Linked DNA regions of Homo sapiens: region 2 is linked to region 1. Evidence: promoter capture Hi-C in 16 types of primary human blood cells and fetal thymus (Javierre and others, 2016). All regions are on one chromosome and are shown on one strand. Each heading gives the region's core, a stretch centred on a gene start or on the middle of the fragment in contact. The rest is flanking DNA. Distances are from core to core; before and after follow the strand shown. Region 1 holds the start of DNAH10 (dynein axonemal heavy chain 10). Region 2 overlaps ZNF664-RFLNA (ZNF664-RFLNA readthrough).

What was found. Contacts are between HindIII fragments. The CHiCAGO score rates a contact against its expected background, and 5 or more counts as called.
Region 2: a contact is called between a fragment that was not itself captured here and the fragment with the promoter of DNAH10 in region 1, in 4 of 17 cell types (megakaryocytes, M2 macrophages, M1 macrophages and 1 more). The highest score is 8.8, in megakaryocytes.

Annotation. Positions count from the first base shown.
Region 1 is chr12:123,759,632-123,766,879 of GRCh38, forward strand. DNAH10 (dynein axonemal heavy chain 10) reads left to right here and starts at 2,670. Exons shown (of 79, transcript NM_001372106.1): 1 at 2,670-2,919. The coding sequence starts at 2,706. ATP6V0A2 (ATPase H+ transporting V0 subunit a2) reads left to right here. Exons shown (of 20, transcript NM_012463.4): 20 at 1-2,124. It overlaps LOC105370044 (a long non-coding RNA gene), which reads right to left. Exons shown (of 5, transcript XR_945481.4): 5 at 5,537-5,617. RefSeq lists a silencer at 2,251-2,670. The HindIII fragment of the contact is 13,934 bases long and covers 1-7,248 here.
Region 2 is chr12:123,980,469-123,987,716 of GRCh38, forward strand. All of the region lies in intron 2 of ZNF664-RFLNA (ZNF664-RFLNA readthrough), which reads left to right. The region is part of intron 2 of ZNF664 (zinc finger protein 664); the gene reads left to right. Among named protein-coding and RNA genes, the nearest start is that of ZNF664-RFLNA, 11 kb to the left of the region's middle. RefSeq lists a silencer at 3,545-3,604 and an enhancer at 3,795-3,864. The HindIII fragment of the contact is 1,812 bases long and covers 3,617-5,428 here.

The sequences.
Region 1 (7,248 bases), core at 1,420-3,919:
GCATCCTCCTCTATCCTGTTTCGAGGTAGAGAGCTTGGCACTTCTGTTACAAGCTGAGAGTCTGGAGGTGCTGAGTTTAACGTGGCTGTGCAGCTGATTTCAAGGCATGAGCTGAACAGCGTTGACACAGCCGTGACTTACAATTAAACCCTTTCAATTACAGTACAGATTCTGTGTGCTACTTGATGAGATGTTACCCAAGGCCAGTTTGGACTTACTGCTTTTTGTCCCTCATATTAAATTATCAAATGATGCCGATGAAATGCTTGAAAATGATTCTGCTCTCAAAGTTATGCTTCCCTAGAAAGGTGTCATGTCGGGCACTTGTGTTGGGTGACTATGACATCCCAGCAGTGCTGGTCAGGTCTCAGAGTTGCTTTCACCTAGAGCTGATGCTTCCACAAGGGGACATTTGTGTTACTTTGCTCCAGGGGTCTGTCATAAAAACAATGGTAACTACTTCATCCCTAGGAAGCCCAAGACTTCAGGGCACTGTTAGCTGATTGGTAAATAAGGGACACGATATTCACGGGAATTGTTTACTGCTCCCCACTAGTAATTCTCATGGGGCCACTTTTTTAACTCTTTCTAATTAACACCTCTTCTCAGCATAGAGCAGAGGATGCAGTCATTTCTCTGTTGAAATCTATGTAGTATTTATGTAGAATGTCATTATATGAAAAGCGAATTCAGAATCCTAACTCTGGGAAAGCGCTCTCTGGAAATGTAGTTTGATAATAGTGTCTTATAGGGGCCACGGGAATTTGTTTCTCTATAAAGCGATGGGCTCCAGTGTCATGTTACCAGAGTTATCGCTCAGTTTTGTTTGTTAAGGCTTTTGCTAGAACCTATTATGTATCCAGTTTTTAAAACATACTTCATTCCCTTGATAGCAGAGATCCAGAGCACAGATGGCAAGTTGTGTGGATGATACTGAATATGTTTATTTTCCTAAAGATAAATGTCACGACACGACATTTCTCAGTTTTTATTTAGATGTTTATTACCATGTGTTAACAGAATCTTAAAACCCAAGGGATTTCTTCAGTAAACTAGACTTTGATTCAACCTGCTGGGCTGGAGACTGTAATTGCCGTGGTCAGTTAAGGAGTGCAAAGGGTGTTCTGTCTGATAGGATCTGGGTGAGCCCTGCGGACTTTCCAGCAGCGAAAGGACTTGGAACTCCTCTTTCGCTGAATGCTGCTCTGTTTCTGGAATGGATATTTTATAACAACATTCTGGTGTCAGCATCCCCTCAGCAGTTGTTTATTTAAAAATTTTTTTATTTTTTTTGAGACAGTGTCTCACTCTGTCACCTAGGCTGAAGTGCAGTGGTGCAGTCTCGGCTCACTGCAACCTCTGCCTCCTGGGTTTAAGCAATTCTCCTGCCCTAGCCTCCCGAGTAGCTGGGATTACAGGCGCCTGCCACAGTGCCCGGCTAATTTTTGTATTTTTAGTAGAGACAGGGTTTCACCATGTTGGCCAGGCTGGTCTCAAACTCCTGACCTCAGGTGATCTACCCACCTTGGCCTCCCAAAGTGCTGGGATTACAGGCGTGAGCCACCGCGCCTGGCCCTCTGCAGTTGTTTAATAAGGCACAGAATACCTGTAGCATAGGTCAGCCTTACGATGTCCATGAATTACATATTCAGACGTTTTAGAGCCTGATACATTTTGGAAAAGAAAAACAACTTCTACACCTATTCTACAGTCCGCATTTAAAACAATAAATTCCTCTATTAAAAACGTAAAGCCGGGTTTGCTTGCGTGCCACAGGGAATATATCCAGGAAGGTTATTATGAAGCTGTCAAATCAAGATGATGGGAATAAGGCAGTTTGAACGAACAGTCTTCCCACAGTCAGGCCATTTTTGCTGATTTGGTTTAGAATTTTCAGAAATACTTAGTACACTCCACCTGTTCTTTGATGGGAATATCTAAGAAGGCTAGGTAGGTTCTTAGGGTTAGCCTGAGTCATCTAGGGGCTCAACTCCTTGTGAGGGGAAATGACAGTGAACAAGTTAGTACTTTGCTCCACAAATGCATGAAAGGACAAATTTGCATCTTCTATCAGTATTTAACTTCCTTTTGCTAATGACAAATAAATATATCTATATTTTTAAACGTGGGTGTTTTGCTTTATTATGCTCTAGTTTGGCAAGAAAGCTAAAGAACTCTGCTCCTTCCCTGATTTTGTAGGCCATGAGGAACTCGTGCTTTCTCGGCTTATTTCCTCCTCGTCTGGCCTCTAATCCCGCCTCTGCCACCGCCGAGGTGCTGTGACCTTCGTCTCGCCAACTCTCTAGCCCCAGCTTCATCTGCAAGGTGGGCGGGCTGCTTGCAAACCGGTCGGCGTGGGGTGGGGTCGCACCCTCGGCTGCAGCGGCCCGAGGGCGGCTCCTGGCGGCGAGGGTCCCGCTCCGCATCCAGGGGCGTGCGCGCTGCCGGGGCCAGGGAGCAACCAGCCTACCTCGGCGGCCCGGGGGCCTGGTGCGCGCCTCCGAGATCCCGGGGCCGGGGCGTGGGCTGCGGCTCGCGGGTTCGGGATCGAGGGGCCGGGCGCGGGGCACTGCCGAGCTTGCAGCCCCCAGCGCCGGCGCCGTCGGCGGGGCGAGCTGCGGCCGTTTCCGGGGCGCCCATTGCTAGGGCCGCCGTTGCCACGGACGCCCGCCCTGCGCCCGGCTCCCTCTGCACTGCGCGGCGCCATGGACGACCTGCGGGTGCTGTGGATGCGCGACCGCGTGTATGCGGCTTTCGGCATCACCGACCCCCAGCTTTTCGAGGACCTGCTCAACCGCGACGACGGCCAGGGCGAGGACCTCATCTTGCACTTCCTCAACCAGGCGAGCGAGGAGGAGGGGCCCTCGGCGCTCTTCATCTACCGCACTATGGTGCCGGAGGAGGTGGAGGTGGAGATTGGTGAGCCTCGACGCGCCGCTCCCTTCCCCGGGCTTCCCTCCTGCCCGTCCCGGCCTCTCCGGCGGGCGCCGGGGCTGCTAGAGCCTGCCCATCGTCCGGCCCCGGCCTCAGGTGCTGTCCACAAACGCTGCCGCCCGCCACGTGCAGGCCCCGGGCGAACCCAGCAATCACAGCCGTCCCTGCCCTCCTGGGCCCACAGCCCACTTGAAAGTCAGGCCTTGATTGAAAAATCACAGCAAACACTGACTTAGCCCGCACCCCGTGCCAGGTGCGGTTCCAACGCTTGTATCAACTCCTTAACCCTACGAGGCGGGTGTATCCTCATCCCTATTTTACAGATGAGCAAACTGGCACGGAGGGGGTTAAGTAACCTGCCCAAGGCCCACGGGGCGTCAAGATCCACTGTGCAATAATCCGAACGGCTGGGTAGAGCCATGCCCAGGTGTGGCAGGGACCCAGGTCACTGTCACTCTCCTTGACGGTCGCAGCCTCTCACGGAGGGTCCGAAGAGCACCCCTTTCTACTTCTGGAGGCTCCTTATATCCTAAAAAGTAAAATAAGGCTAGGACAAAGTTTAAAAACTACAGTAGACTTTAAATGTTTATGTTGAACAAATTAGCATCGCAAATACAAAAAGACAGTGACCAGGGTCCCAGAACCCTCTGTGGAGGCGGATCCCCAGCCCCACCTACTCTCTGATAGGCCAGGGACACTGAGAGGGCAGGGAGGGGCCAGCACAGGTGAGAGGAGGAGGCAGGACAACTCGCTTCAGAAACAGCTAGAAGGAGACTGGGACCTCGAAAGCCGCCTCCTCGCAGGAGCACCAGCTGGAGCACAGCTACCGGGACCTCCTGCCTGGCTGTCCAGTCTCCTGGGCTACTTTTCCAGCCCCTTAAGGACTTGGGGATCCCTTGCAGGGCCTCTCACTGGGTTCGGGTGGCAGGGCCGGCAGACCTTTGATTTTTTTTTTAAAGGTACCAGGCAGATTCATTTATTGTATTCTATTTTTTAACTTTTTTTTTTTTTTTTTTGAGATAGGGTCTCACTTTGTCACCCAGGCTGGAGTGCAGTGGTGCGATCTTGACTCACTGCAACCTCTGCCTCCAGGGCTCAAGTGATTCTCCCACCTCAGCTTCCTGAGTAGCTGGGACTACAGGTATGCGTCACCATGCCTGGCTAATTTTTATATTTTTGGTAGAGACAGGTTTCACCATGTTGCCCAGGGTGGTCTCAAACTACTGAGGTCAAGTGATCCTCCCGCCTCGGCCTCCCAAAGTGCTGGGATTCCAGGTGTTAGCCATCTGGCACCTGGCCACTTCTTTTTTTTTTTTTTGAGACAGAGTCTAGCTCTGTCGCCAAGGCTGGAGTGCAGTGGTGCAATCTCGGCTCACTGCAACCTCCACCTCCCTGGTTCAAGCAATTCTCCTGACTCAGCCTCCCAAGTAGCTGGGATTACAGGCACCCATCACCATGCCTGGCTGATTTTTGTATTTCTAGTAGAGACAGGGTTTCACCATGTTGGCCGGGCTGCTCTTGAACTCCTGACCTAAAGTGATCTGCCCACCTCGGCCTCCCGAAGTGCTGGGATTACAGGTGTGAACCATCGCGCTTGGCCACCTTCATTTATTTTAAATATTCATTATTTGCTTGCACAAAATAAAACGCCTTCATCATAAATCCAAAACCATAAATAAACAACAATAACAAATCCCTAGTGCCATCTGGAGAGAGGACCACGTGATCACGTTTTGGAATTTAACCTTCCAGCCTATTATTTTTTTCTCCCTGGCAGACCTTTGGACCTGAACATTAGATTATAACTGGACCTCGGATGTAGGCACTTTCATTGGCACCAAGTGAAATTATGGAAACCAAAAACACACTCGCAGGATTGACCGTTTAACATGTACCACCACTGCAGGAACTCGGGTTTCGTTTACATTAAAAAAAAATTACAAGACCCTAAAACAATGGATGTGACTTGGATTTCTTGCAGAAGCCCTCCAAGGGCCTCTGTTAACGGTGGGGTGGCTGTTGTCTGCTGTGTTTACTAGCACGTGTTTAGCCCAAATGTCATCCAGTGTGGAAGCAGAGTTCAGTCTCACCTCAGAGGGTCCCCCTGGTTAATTCCTGGACCCTCCAAAGGGAGCTCAGAACTCCCCCACCCCGCCCCCTGACCCGTTTCTGGGCTGTCTCTGTCCCTGGTCTTCCCTTCCATTCCCGTCCCTTCTCCACTATCACCTCATGGTGAAAAGCTGATGGATTCCTCGCCGAAGATGCTGTCTCTGGAAACTCTCAAAGCTGCCGATTCTGGAGGTGCCAGATGGCGTCGGGTGTTGGGGGTTCTGGCCAGGTGGGGAGAAGAGACCTCATCCCCAACTCCACACGTTGTCACTCACTCTCTGCTTGTTAAACCTACAGGCTCATATAACCCTTGAACAGTTTCCCTAGATTATTTTTGGGGGACAGGTGGTTCTGGTCTGTTCAGAGGACCTGCAGAGAGCCCAGCGTGTCCTTTGTTTCCTTTTTTTTCCTCTTTCTGCCCCCCTTCCCCGGTCAAGATTTCTCTCTGCTCCTGGTTAAAAATGATAGGAATGGAGACAAGCAGATACTGGGGCAGGTGGTGGTAATAAAGGCGAGGTGTCCTTCCGGGCAGCAGATACCCAAGATACTGATGCAGTAGGTACATGTGTTCCTTCTGGAAAAAACAAAACGGAATCGTACTGTACATATCATTTAGTAACTTCCTTACATTTAAAGAAATTACACAAATACTGCCATAACACATGTTCTCTTATGAATTCACAGAACATAGAATTACATATAAAAAGAAAAAGCAACGCTTCTCCATCCCTTAAGCCCCAGTCCTGCTCTTATTCCTAGGGGTAACCACTATTATTAGTTTGGTGTGTTTCTGGTTGGCTCTTTTGTCAAATTATCAGTCAATCAATCAGCCAATCACCTACCAACCGACTGATCTGTCTCCCTACCTTCCTATGCATCTATCTATACTTTATCTATCTATCTATCTATCTATCTATCTATCTATACATACCTCTATCTATACATCTATTTATCTATCTCCTGTCTACCTACCTACCTATACATCTATCTCTCTCTATTATCTATCTACCAACTGACCAATCTGTGTGTCTATCTACCTATCATTCACCTATCATCTATCCATCTATCAATTATCTACCAATCTACCTACCTACCTATACATCTATCTATCTCTGTCTATACATCTATCTACCTACCTACCTATACATCTATCTCTATCTATATATCTATCTACCTACCTACCTATACATCTATCTGTCTGTCTCCTGTCTACCTACCTAATTACCTATACATCTATCCCTCTATTATCTACGTGCCAACTGACCAATCTGTGTGTCTGTCTACCTATCACTTACCTATCATCTATCTATCCATCTATCAATTATCTACCAATTTATCTACCTACCTATACATCTATCTCTGTCTATACATCTATCTACACATCTGTTTATCTGTCTATACATCTATCTATACATCTATCTATCTATACATCTGTCTGTCTATCTATCTATACATCTATCTCCTGTCTACCTACCTACCTATACATCTATCTCTCTCTATCTATACATCTATCTATCTATGTACCTACCTACATGTCTGTTTATCTATCTGTCTGTCTGTCTATCTCTGTCTGTCTAGGCATAAGGTCAGGGCTGTTGAGATCAATTAATCAGCCTACCTACCTACCTACCTACCTACCTGCTTGTCATCTATATCTGTCTATCCTTGTTCCATCTACAGTCTATATTTCTCTCTATAATGATAATATATGGATATATAGAGTTCCTAAAACTATAAATATCATACTATATATACATATTATTTTGTGACTTCTCCCCCCACCACATGTTTTGGTTATTTTTTCATGCCAATTCCTATAGTTCTACCTAACTTGATAGATTTAAATACATAGATGTACCACATTCTACTCATCCATTCTCTAATTAATGGACACTTAGCTTTTCAGAGTATTCATTCTACAAACAATGGAATAATGTCTGTCTATCCTTGCATACTTTGTGTATTTCTGGAGGATAGATTTATAAAAATGAAATGCATCTGTAACAAGTGTGGTCTTTTACAATTTGAGTGGGTCCTGTTGGTCCACAGCCAGTGGTGGTGGATGAGGCACCTGTTTCCCAATGGCCTCCTGACATTTGATATTGGCCATTTTTTAGATTTTTGGCAATTCCATAGAAAAAAGTAGTTGTACTCCCTTACTCTAATTTATGTAAATGTTAGTGTAGTTGAGCCTCTTTTTTTCCC
Region 2 (7,248 bases), core at 3,273-5,772, 220 kb after region 1:
ATTTTTAAATACAGAGAAAAGCTTTCTGCACAAAATATGTATATTGTAGAATTATATTTATGGGCACAGTTTGCAGAATGGTTATGATACATCCCCTATATCATATATTTAGTGGCAAATAACATTGCCATTAAAAACGTTTATGAAGAAAATATATTAAAATGCTTATGATAGTGTTAAGTGGAAGGAAATCAGGATACACAATTGTATACCTGATATGATGAAAACGCCCCAAAAAAAGTCCCAGCAGCCTTCCAGTAAAACCTATGAATGGCAAAAATATGTAGAAGAAATTAGATGGAAATCTTAAGAATTGTGGAATTCGGTAGGATGTCGGGTGATTTAAATAATCTTTTTTGTATTTGCCAAGATTACATGTACCTGTATTACATGTATGATGGAACATTTGATTTAACAAAGTATATCTGGGACATGATAGCTACATGGCAAATAGACATGAGCACTTTTTTTTTTGGTTAAAGCCAATGAATAAATTTGGAATTTACACTGAAAATGATTGGGACCCATTGAAAACTTGTGAGTAGGGTAAGAACAATCCATTTTGCATTTTAGAAGGTTACATTAGAGTAGATAATGGATTAGAGGGAAGCAAGACTGGAGGCTTTTGTAGAATTCCAGGGAAGATGATGGTGGCTTGAGTTAAGTTGAGACAATGCAGGTACACAGTGGAGAGTTTCCAGAGGTATTTGGAAGAGAGTGGCTAGACCTTTGTGATGGGGGGAAGTCAATGATATTGACTTGGGCAATTGAGGGGAGAGTGGACTCATTTACTATAGTTGGGAATTGGCTATGGTTTGAATATTTGTCCCCTCCAAAACTCATGTTGAAACTTAATCCCCAATGTGACAGTGTTGAGAGGTGGGGCCTTTCAGAGGTTTGGCTCATGAGGGCAGAGCCATTCATAGATTAATGGGTTGTCATGGGAGGGGACCTGGGGGCTTTATAAAAAGAAAAGAGATCTGAGACAGCATGTTAACATGCTCAGCCCCCTCTCATCGTGTGATGCCCTGTGCCGGCTCAGGGCTCTTTGGAGAGTCCCCACCAGCAGGAGAGCTGTCACCAGATGTGGTCCTGGGCTTTTTCAGCCTCCATAACTGTAAGAGATAAATTTCTTCATAAATTATCCAGTTTCAGGTATTCTCTTGTAAGCAATAGAAAACAGATTAAGACAGGAATATAGTAGGCTTTGGTGAGGAAGTGACTGATTCAGTTTTGGATGTACTTGAGTTTGAAGGTCTTATAGGACACATAGGTGTGTCACGAAGAGGATTTACAAAGAATAATTTTACAGTACACATGTTTTGCTGTAAGAATGACTAGATACTATACATAGCTATGGTATTAAAATCAATATTTCTACATGGTAAATTTTTCTTGCAATATAGTTGTACTTCTGTAAATTGGGGCATATCTGTCTAGATAGACTGGACCATTGATATTTTTCACATAGAATTATTTGAGACTGCATGACCTCGACTTCAGATAATACCATGATTGTCTTTGGGGTTCATTGGGTAGACTCTTGCCTCTCTGAGTGGGTGGTGGAGGTTCCTCTGGGCATTAGTGGTCCTTTTGTCAGTCATCCTGTTGTCAGAGTACACCTGACTTCTGGGAGTGATTTCTCTTCATCTTGGTAAACTGGTCCCTTCCACGTAGGGGCAGGCCAGGAAATAGGCAGAGTGGTGCCCTTTCATCCATGTGTGAGTGCCCACCTGGCTGTTAATAGTATGGCTGGAGCATGGGTACCTTGAAGGACAAGTGGAGAAAAGGTAGCGGAGAAAGTGCCTGCCAAGGTAACAGAAGTCATTAGAGAGGAAGGTAGATGTCTTCATCAGAGGTTGGGGCCCAGTCGCTGGGAAGTTGGTGGCAGTCAGTGTGGCTGTGCTCTTTGCCTTCATCTCCCAGGCTTCTCCTGCTCACTGTGTGTCTGCCCTATGCTTCTATGTGTGCCTGCCCTCCCCCTAATCTCTTCTCTCGCTTGGCAGTAAATAACACGTGACCCCAGGTGGTCACTCTGGAAGGCCATTCTGAAACTCTAACTTCTGCCAGCTCACATCACAGACCCAGTCTTTCCACTTCCCACTTCCCAATTCCAAATTCTCTAGAAGGACAATCTGATTGGCTTAGCTTGGGTTCCACGCTCACCGTATCGGTTTTACTGTTGCAGCGCTTACAGGAGCAGATTCATTTAGTGTGAGCCTGGTGGACTGGCTAGAAGGGAGTGCAGACGAGGACACTCAGGAGAGACGTCCTGGAAGTTAGAAAGTTTCAAGAATGGACAGGAGCAGTAGTTTCAAACGGCCTAGAGATGTAATAAAGGGATCAGGAGTGAATCTTAGATTTAGCAAATTGAAGTCTTTCAGCCCAGGTTGAAAGTTGTGTCTACTGGGCATGGTGGCTCATGCCTGTAATCCCAGCACTTTGAGGGGCCAAGGCAGGCAGATGGCTTGAGGCTGGGAGTTTGAGACCAGCCTGGGCAACATGGCAAAACCCCGTCTCTACCAAAAATACAAAAATTAGCCAGGCATGGTGGCACACACCTGTGGTTCCAGCTACTTAAGAGGCTGAGGTGGGAGCATCACTGGAAGGCAGGGCTGTAGTGAGCCATGATCACGCCACTGTACTCCAGCCTGGGTGACAGAGCGAGACCCTGTCTCAAAAAAATAAAAAAAGAAAGCAAGCAAGTTGTGCTACAGCTAATCCATGTGGGAGAGTCACAAGGTGGAACCAATGGCTATGATTACTCATTTGTAAGACACTGAAAGAAGAGAATTTTTAAAATACAATTTAATTTTGAAGATGTAGCAGAAGCATTCAAAATGTAATTTTAAAAATATAATTCGTATTGCTTTTTAACGCTAAAACATTTCTACACCTTTATTCTGATTCTGAAATACACAGTGTCTCTTGTGTCACTTGATACATTATAAGAAATTCAGTAAAGCTATTCTAGAACTCATTTATTTTTCATACCCCTGAAAGTTCATAAAATAATCATAGGTTATTTCCATATCTTATTTTGCAGTGTGTTCTATGATATTGTGACAGAGCTTGTGAGGAAGCCTTTATAGCCAGAGCAGACCCCTGTCCCAAAGATGATGAACTCTGCCACTTAGGTTAACAATACAACAGTTCATAGAAATAATTGGAACCATTTTTCTTCTGCAGAGTAAATCCTGTATGTCCCTCTGGCTTTCAAAATATCACTTTTGGATGTGTAGTTCAAATATGTTTAGGATTGAGCCTGATGGGGGTTTAAGAATATTTCATTGATTCAAAGTACTCGGTGTTGGCTAGAAAACATGTCAAGTTTCTCAGTTAACCGATGTTCAATAAATTACTTTTAATACTATAACTTTACATTGTGATAGGACTAGGACCTTGTGGTAAGCCTCCAGACTCACAGTTAGAATCAGAGAACCTGCACAAAGCGGGTTGCATGCATTTTCATGATGCTTGGCAACTAGAGGTAGTAACCCATTGTGACATTGATTTCAAGTCCTAACTCCTTAGTGTGAAGAGCCGAGGTTTCTGAGCAGGTGTTTGAGTGCCCTCTGGAGGCCTTGTGAACAGTTGAAATGTGGACTCCTAGCAAAGCTTTCTTTCACAGCCAGAGTTGAGAACCAGTGGGCGAGATGGTTGAAACTGGTGTGGATGTTAGGAGCAGAGGAGAGGGGAGATGGAACTCATGGGAATGAACTAGTGTTTACAAGAGCTTGCCCGGCCAACTGATAATACTGGGTTTATGCAGTGAGTGTAGAACACAGAGGCCGTAGGGTCACAGAAGGAGCCAAGGGAGTGTGGCCAGTAATGTCCAGTGGGATAAAGAACAAAAAGTGCCCTTGGATTGGCCAAGAGAAGGCCGACAATGAGAGAGGAACCTCGGTGGTGTGGTGTTGGATTGAGGCATGAGTGGGAAGTGAAGCAATAGAAATCTGGAAAAATCAGTCTTTAAGAGGTCTGGATGGGGAAATGGAGGGTGGGGCCAGGGAGACAGGGTAGCTAGAGAAGGCCTGGGATTAAATGCTGTTTTTCCTTAAGGTTGGGGGAGACTTCTGCATTGTGTTTAAATGCTGAAGGGAAGAAACAAGCACAGAAAGAAAACAGTTGAAAGGGGTGTGGGGGCCGGGGAGGAGGAGAGAGTTGGTTTCAAAGTTCTTTGCCTGGGAGATCTGTTGAGGGAAGAAGTTGCCTTTTATAGGGACTTTGAGTTTGTCAAAGTAGTGATTTTCAGTTTATCGTGGGATGATGGGGAAATAATTCTAGTAGGCAGTTGGAGATACAGGTAAGAAGAAAAGACTGTGTTAAGAAACTGTGGCATCATCATCATGGAAATGGTCATCATTCCAGCCAAGCAGGTAGTTGAGCTAAAAAATGGAGACAGGACATACTGTATGGAGGACTCCTATATTTAGGCATAGGCATGTGAGATGGCAGACACAATCAGCAAGGCCAGAGGAAAAGTGAGAATGTGCAGGGAACTGGGAGCCGAGGAGACCGTAGACTAGGATTCAGGGTGAGGCAGGAGGAACGGCCCCAAGATTTGACTCTGAGAGCAGTTTTGTAGTGGGGGTGGGGGTACAGAATGGTGTGTGGGAGGTGCACACAGAAGGTATTATAGATGCTGTGGAGGAGCTCAGTAGTGAAAGTGAGAAGAGTGAATTGGTCTTAGTCGGGGGATGGCTCCAGAGAACACATGTCACTTATCTGTGCATATGAAATTAGAGCTGTAATCAACAATGACTCTAGAAAGGATTATTTTTGCTTTTTTGTTTTTAACACCATCATCTCAGAATATAAGATCTAAGTTTCATGTAACTTTTGTGCCACTTCCTACTCTTCTCAGATTGAGAATCTGACCAGAAGGAAGAAAATGTCTAGGTCTATTCATGACATTTGAGGGAGTTCTTGCAGGAGAGAGTAAATGTGACTGATTTTTGATTTACTATTCTGACACACGTCAAATGTTAAATCCTTTAAATCTATGAGACCATTTGCTATCATAAATGACATTTTAAAAAACTTCTTGGTAAAACTAATAGTATGGCTAATAGAAGTTATTTGGCTTCACTTATTTAAAATATTTCGTTAAGAAAAGATAACAGATTCCTAATATCAGAAGTGGTAAAATAACTGTGTTTAAATCTGGGAGGTGGGATTTGACCTCTCACTTTAGACTGAGTGCCCAGTTTGAGCGGCCAGGCGTACAGTTTAAGCATACACTTATCCAAGGGGTGGAATGGCAGGTTCCAGCTTAGGCCCAAACACGTCCGCTGCTGTGGGACTGGTGCGAAGATCTGTGAAGGCCTTAAGCCATTAAACTTTTGGAGGCCTTTACTATGTCATATCAAACATTAAATCACCCATGTCCCACATAAAATTAGCTTGTACAAAACCATATGAGTTAAGCTTTGATTGGCTATAGACATTTAACATTTATTAACTTTAATTTTGCAATTTTCTTTTCATGTTTTGCATCCAGTAATGTTTTTTTTCAGATCTGAAACATTTACATAGGTCTTCGAGATGCTCATGAGCCTTAGGGACTGTGCCTATATACCTAGAGATAAGACATCCCAGTTCTGCTGGGAAGTGGACATTGGGTATGTCTAGGCATGTCTGGCGGGGGGCTGGAGGGGGTGGGCTTGCCCAGAATCTGTTTGTTTGTGGCACTGAGGCACCTCCTGGGAAAACTTCATCTTAAGGGGGAGTTGAAGGAAGTGTTTTAGTTAGGGATTTTTTGTTGCAAAGAACAGAGTTTCATTCAGACCACTTTCTGTACAAGGGGCTATATTGGAGGATGCATGTGGATCAGACCCATGAGGAACTCAGGCTGTCCAGAGACAAGCCACAGTCTTCCCATGGACAGTGAGGTCTCTCACGGCATCACTCATTTCTTTGTGTCTTTCTCCTCTTGCTGCCATCTGGCTTGTTTTTCCCTCCTCTGTATGTCTTTTCTAACCTTTTAGCTCCTCCTTGCTTATAGATTCTACTTCCTCATGAGTTTGGTTTGCTGTGATTTGATGACCTCCGCAGTCATTTTGCGGATCATAACCTCTCAGCTTCATCTCTCACAGCTGATAACCTCATTCTCTCAGTATTGCTTAGATTCCTGAGAGAGAGGGAATCTGATTTTGTTTTGCTTTTATTGTTGTTCCAAGCCACATCATATGTCAGAGTTAAGCTCTTGGGTCAGATGTCTGCACTTGGTCTCAGAAGTGGTCATGTGGCCGATGGCTGCCTGGGCCTACCCTTAAAGCTGAAGCAGTTCCCATTAGTAGGATTTGTAGGCTAGCAGGCACCATGATTGGCATGTATAGTTCAGTAAGGGAGGAAAAAACCTGGCCCAATATCAAGACCACTTGAAATTCCTCCAAATGTATTCCTGCCCTTTAAAATATTATCCTGCTAACAGCTTTCATTCTAAGTTGAACCTTTATTCCCACAGAGAAACTAAAATAGCTAAATGTGTTGAAAGCATTTTCACTTTTCCATTTTCTTCCTGTTTTATTCAGTCTCTGACAGTGCAGGGCCACTCAGCATAGTCTACAGGACTCTATTTCTAATGTTAGTGATTTCTGCTGAAAATGATATAGCAACTTCAGATAGCTATTAGCAAGATGGATCATTCTAACCACATGCCTTTCACATAATCCTTTCCCCCAAAGCTCTGGGGAGCTGTAGAGGCATACTGTAATCCAGCACTGTCCCCAGATTGACAACAGCTAGAAAAACATGTAAATGTCCCATCCACATGTAGATACGGCAGCAGTGTGAACCTAAGTTCCTTAATATATCATAACTCCCAGGGGAAAGTGAAGTTCCCCAAACTTAAAGCTAGATCTTGAGATCTATACCTAAACTTCTCTGAACAATTATAGAATATAGCAGAGGCGGGGAGGTAGTAGATGGAATAAATAAAATAATGATAATGATAGCTTTGTTGAGCCCTTGAAATTTGCCAGGCAGTGTTTTAAGTACTTCTCATGGATTAATTGATTTAATCCTTAAATTACCTTATCAGATCAGCTGCCTTTATTATCTCCATTAACTCATTCTTAACCTCCTAGGTGAAGGTTACACAGCAGGTATGCAGTAGGGCCAGGACATGAACTCACCCAGTCTGACTCCAGTTTGTGCTTCTTCAGTACCCTGAGAGACTGGAAAATCCGTGAAAAAACACTATTGATTGTTTATTCCCTGGCATTTTAGCCAGTCTGAGTCAGT